Linked DNA regions of Homo sapiens: region 2 is linked to region 1. Evidence: promoter capture Hi-C in human tissues and cell types (Jung and others, 2019). All regions are on one chromosome and are shown on one strand. Each heading gives the region's core, a stretch centred on a gene start or on the middle of the fragment in contact. The rest is flanking DNA. Distances are from core to core; before and after follow the strand shown.

Region 1 (2,846 bases), core at 242-2,741:
CTGAGGAATCCAGCCCATTTTACATAGCAAACTTTCTCTTAGCTGCTACCTACTCAAAGTTTGGCTGCACATTTTAGCTATAATTGTTCTCAAATTGTTTCAAGAGTGCTAGTTTTCTTTCTTAGGCTCCAGGTTAGCTCCTTGGGAGCGGGGACTTAGCTTAAAATCCTGCTGTGTATTTTCCGTTGTGTTTAGCCCTATGAGTAATCACATTCAATGCATACTTGTAAGGCATATTTGACTGAAGATATCTATCATAGTTATTCATTTAGTAAATGATATAATGAAAACTCAAGTGCTCGCCAAAGATAAATCATTACTATTAATTCCCTCATTCATCATACATGTATGGCAGCCTCAGGGGCTAGGGAACCTAGGATTGCTGCTTTGACTTTTTTTGGGGAAGCCAAATAAGCCTCAGATCTCTCCACTTTGGAGCCAGCCATGAAATTCAGATTTACCTAGGGCTCAACATTAAGGGTCTCAGACTAAATTTATCTTCAGGTACCCTTTCCAGAGTGGACCAGTTTACCTTATACCTCTGAGAATAACCCAAAACTTTCAAAACTCAAATCACAGGATATTATTTGTTCATGAATTCAGCAAGACTCTCTTGTTTAACTATTGAAACTCAAATATTTCGGCTTGCAGCAAGGAGGGGTACAGCTGTCTGGATATACCTTGGCCAAATTTCAGTGTATATAGAAAAGTGGGAGGTTATCGACTATGTTAAACCTTTTCCTTAAATTTTCAAACTTCGGGATTATTTTAGTCTCATAGATAAAATAACAAGGCAAGTATTTACAAACTTTTTTCAAAAATATGAGAATTTCAGTTTTCCCTAGGGCATTTGGCGTTGTGCTGTCACCACACTTTTGAAGATAGCTTTACAACCGTGGGAAAACTCACCGGGCTTTTTTCGTTGACCCCGCCATTTCTAAGTTGCTATATTGCTGCAAGGAGCTGGCAAAGCCATGCTCTTCCTCTCCCCCATTCTCCTCTTCCTTTCAAAGACCAAAGCGCCCCGTGAGAATATAGAAACAAGGCTGAGAGGCAGCGAAGAGTAAGGGAGGAGCCAGCACTTACGCATTTTTCACTCTCCTCCTCACTCCCTAGGGTCATAGTTTTGATTCTGAAGTTAGAAGTGTGGGGGTCGTCGGCTGCATTTTCAACTTGGCCTAAAAGTTGGAGTTCACCACACTGCAGGCGCTAGGAACTCTGCCGCTCGGTCACCAACCTGAGCCTCTGGCTAGTCCGAAGAACGCGAAAAGCCAGGCCCAAGGCACTGGTTGTCATGGCAACCGGGGCGCTGGTCTCCCTGGCGACCTCGTCCCTAGGGAGGAGGTGGAGCTGGATGCCAGGCGGGCCAATGAGGTCGAGGGGAGCTCGGGGTGGGAGATCTGCGGTCCTCCCAGTGCCGGGGAATGGTTGAGTGACAGGACCGGGGGGGCGGAGCCGGCGCGGCTGCCCGAGGTGGAGCCCCAGTGGTGCGAGTAGCTCCAGCGGCCACGCTGAGGCGAGGGTGACACACCATGCTCACGGCCCCTGGAGACCGTCGTGCTGGCGAGCCGTGCTCCGTAGCTCCCCGGTCCGCCTCGGCAGCGGTCAGAGTCGCCTACAGGAGTTGAGCCGCCCGCGCCAGAAGGTTTTGGCGAAGCTCTTGGAGAGGCGTCGAGCACAGTAGGGCGGCGGGGGTGCGTTGAGCGCTCGGGGGTCAGGCAGTCGGCCGGGATCGCCGCTGGGGAGCGTTTCCGAGGCGAGGAGGAGGAGGAGGAGATGCTGCTCCTCTTCTCCCCCTCCCCAGGCTCCTTCTACAGCTCCTTCAGCCCACGCCCGCAGCCGCTTGTGGGAGAAGTGGTGGTGGCTCTCGGCGCCCGCGGCGGCTGCCGGCGGCCCGCCCCGACGCCGCGTCCCTGCAGCCCTCGCCCGGCGCTCCAGTAGCAGGACCCGGTCTCGGGACCAGCCGGTAAGGACGAGAGCCGCCCTGGGCTCTGCGCTGCATGTGCAGAAGTGCAAAACAAAGTACATTGCGCTCGTTCTCTTCCTCCTCTCTCTGCTTTCGCTCCAGTCCCTAAACCCAACTCCTCGGTTGCCCTGGTAGAAGGAACTTTTCTTTGGTTTTGGTGGTGGGTGTTTTTGTACGTTAGAGTGGGGGTGGGGTGACTGGAGTGGGGAAGAATGAGATGAAACTCCATTGCTAATTAGGTAGATCCATCTCCTCTGCGGAAGAAAGCCGGATTCTCGGGAATGAAACCCACAGGGGGAGTAAGAGATTGTGGGGTAATAGGGAGTGACATTGCCCCGTCGTGCTTGCACAGCTCCGCTCTGTGCGTGCTTAAGGGAAGGGCTCCCGGAGTCTGTTTCTAATTTCTGCAAATGATTGTGGAGATGGTGTGGTTAGAGGCCGCCCAGAAGAATGTGTGTGTAAGGGCTCGAGAAGGGGGTGGGATGGCGGGGAAGCAGAGGAAGAGGGGGCAGAGGGAGAGACACTGTCTGATGCAAGGTCTTTTATTGCTTTTCTTCTGCTTGCTAAAGTTAACACTCTACCCTCCGGCCCCCTAGCCCCACCGCTTTGCTCATTACGTGATACTGTAAGAGCAGACAGCTGGGAAGCTAAAGTTAAACCAAAGTCAAGAAAATTCTTACAAAGTTTAATTTCCTTCTGTTGTGAATATAATGGAGAGAGGAGGATGGGGAGAAATATCACTAAGAGATTTACAGCAATACAGTTTTCATTGGCCATACACGTATATGATCGACACCACCGCACACTTCCAACTAATCTGTTCGACAGCCTTGTGTCATTTTCATTTAATTGCATCTTTGAAACAACAAACGCGGTGACT
Region 2 (2,846 bases), core at 93-2,592, 110 kb after region 1:
TAAAGAAATCTTGTCCATTGTGAAAAAAAAAAAACCTTCAATGATTCAAATAGATAAAACCATTATAGTTTTGAAATAGAAATAATGAAGATATGTACCAATCTATATGAGTATTTAAAAGGCTGAATGGTATCTTTTTTTTATTGTGAATGTTAAAAATGAAATTATAGGCCAGGCATGGTGGGTCACACCTGTAATCCTAGCACTTTTGGAGGTCAAGGTGGGAGAATTGCTTGAAGTCAGAAGTTCAAGACCAGTCTGGGCAATATAGCAAGACCTCATATCTACAAAAAAAATTTTTTAATTATCCAAGTGTGGTGGTGCACACCTGTAGTTCCAGCTACTCAGGAGGCTGAGGTGGGAGGATCACTTGAGCTGAGAAGTTTGAAGCTGCAGTGATCTGTCATCAAGCCACTGCACTCTAGACTGTGCAACAAAGCGAGACTCTGTCTCTAATGATAGTAATAATAAAATTGGCCAGGCGTGGTGGCTCATGCCTGTAATCCTGGCACTATGGCAGGCTGAGACGAGCAGATCACCTGAGGTCGGGAGTTCGAGACCAGCCTCACCAACATGGAGAAACCCCGTCTTTACTGAAAAAAAAATACAAAAATTAGCCAGGCATGGTGGTGCATGCCTGTAATCCCAGCTACTTGGGAGGCTGAGGCTGAGGCAGGAGAATCAAGTGAACCCAGGAGGTGGAGGTTGCAGTGAACCGAGATCGCGCCATTGCACCCCAGCCTAGGCAACAAGAGCGAAACTCCGTCTCAAATAATAATCATTATAATTTCTAATGTTTTTATGTGTGATCTAAGTTTCAAAACATTACTTGTCTTGATATTTGGTAAATTAGTAGTAATGTGAATTAGCAAAGCTTGAGATTTTTTTTTTATACTTGAACCTTGGTTTGAGAGTTAAACAGGAAAAACATCAAACATTAATGGAAACGTATTTAATCTGTTAAATTATACCATAATAGTCTATTTAATATATTTCGTTTGTTTTTCATTACCAATAACAAAATATATTAGACTATTGTAGCATATGATTCTATTATCTTCTCAGTTAATGTGTATGCACATGTGTATAAGTGTTAAGGAAACTCAGACCATCTTATTTCTACATATGCTTTTATATCTGCAAAGATGATACATAATTCTTGTAGAGCCTTATTTGTTCAAAAGGTAATTACGTATTTGATACATCATTTCCAGATTTAGAAATTTCGTATTTGTTATAGGATGCACAAACAAAAGAAAAGCTTTTTAAAAAAAAATCTGCTTTCAATTGTTCGATATAGGACAATCTTGAAATCTTTTTAACTAGGGTTTTCAAAAGCATTTGCTCTCATGAAGAACCTACCCATTATTCCCCCAGAGGATATTTTACAACCCAGTTAAACAAACACCTAAAAATGTTGGATTATTATGGAAATACACTACCTTAAACCTCCATTATTATATAGTAACTTGAAAGCAGCAATAAATTATGTTTGCTTTAGACTACAGGCATTAATCAAAAGGAATGTTAGAAGTTTAGAATTCAAAAGCACTAATTCTTACTAGTTATTTAGTTGAGTAACTTGCTGGTCTTATGCTGTGCTTTTTCTAAAGGTGAGGTAATTTATGTTGCAAACAAGGCTGGGCGCGGTGGCTGATGCCTGTAATCCCAGCACTTTGGGAGGCCAGGGCGGGCAGATCACGAGGTCAGGAGATCAAGACCATCCTGGCTAACACGGTGAAACCCCATCTCTACTAAAAATACAAAAATTAGCCTGGTGTGGTGGTACATGCCTGTAGTCCCAGCTATTCAGGAGGCTGAGGCAGGAGAATCACTTGAACCTATGAGGCAGAGGTTGCAGTGAGCCAAGATCGTGCCATTGCACTGCAGCCTGGGTGACAGAGCAAGACTCCGTCTCAAAAAAAAAAAAAAAGACATGCGCAAACAAACGTGCAGCTTGTTAATATGAAGATTTTAGCTACTATACAAAGAAAAAAGAATAGAAAATCATGTAAATCCCATTTTTCTCATTTAATTCTAGTGAGAGACAGGCTTCACAGATCCCTTTTATGTGTGATAAATCAAGCAGAACTGTAAATATCAATGTATACATTTTATTGTACACATTTCTTTCTTAAACTATTTGTGTTTTAAAAGTTTTAAAAAGAAATGTTTTGTACAATTTTTGTGATCTTTAAATTTGGCAGCTGCTAATGGGTTTCAGTAATTATAGAATTAGAAGAGGTCTTAGAGCACATGTTATCGAAACATATTCTTGGGCTTGTAAAGATTTAATAACATACCTAAGATCACATAATGAGTTAAAGATAGAGTTTTATTATTTTGGAGATTGTAGATTTTCATCATGGATTTTCAGAATATCAGTCTAAGGATTTCCCACTACATGTGACTTAAAAAAAAAAAAGGATGTATTCTCACATTCCTTGAGCTGATATAATAATTGGAAGAAACAAAATTGCTAAATTTTAATTTGTTCTTTGGGTGTTCTAGGAGGGTTATTGAGTTAATAAACAGTTTTCTCCTCCAACCTCTGATAATATAGCTTTTTCCTTAACCCAGGCCCCATTCTCTTGAAAGGATCCTTTACCTAAATAATCTCCTCAGCATTTCCCCAGCTAACAACATCAACTAGCTAACTAGCATAAGGGACACAAGACCTTCAAATCATGGAATTTGGAAGTGGAAGGAATCTGGATACCATTTAAACCAAACATCTCATTTTCAGAGGTCCAGAGAAGTAGACTAGTTTGCCAAAGGAGATACATAATTCATAATTCATAACAGAGCCATATTTTGAATCCCAGTCTCTAGAGCCCAATTATAAG

What was found. The method cuts DNA at HindIII sites, captures the fragments that hold promoters and counts their contacts. A contact is called where the count stands out against the background at its distance.
Region 2: a contact is called between a fragment that was not itself captured here and the fragment with the promoter of PTPN13 in region 1, in 3 of the 25 tissues and cell types used here (dorsolateral prefrontal cortex, hippocampus and neural progenitor cells).

The regions. Positions count from the first base shown.
Region 1 is chr4:86,592,824-86,595,669 of GRCh38, forward strand. It overlaps PTPN13 (protein tyrosine phosphatase non-receptor type 13), which reads left to right and starts at 1,492. Exons shown (of 48, transcript NM_080683.3): 1 at 1,492-1,966. It also overlaps a transcript of MAPK10 not described here. RefSeq lists an enhancer at 1,143-1,729. The HindIII fragment of the contact is 10,688 bases long and covers 1-2,846 here.
Region 2 is chr4:86,703,416-86,706,261 of GRCh38, forward strand. The region is part of intron 7 of PTPN13 (protein tyrosine phosphatase non-receptor type 13); the gene reads left to right. Among named protein-coding and RNA genes, the nearest start is that of PTPN13, 110 kb to the left of the region's middle. The HindIII fragment of the contact is 4,391 bases long and covers 1-2,846 here.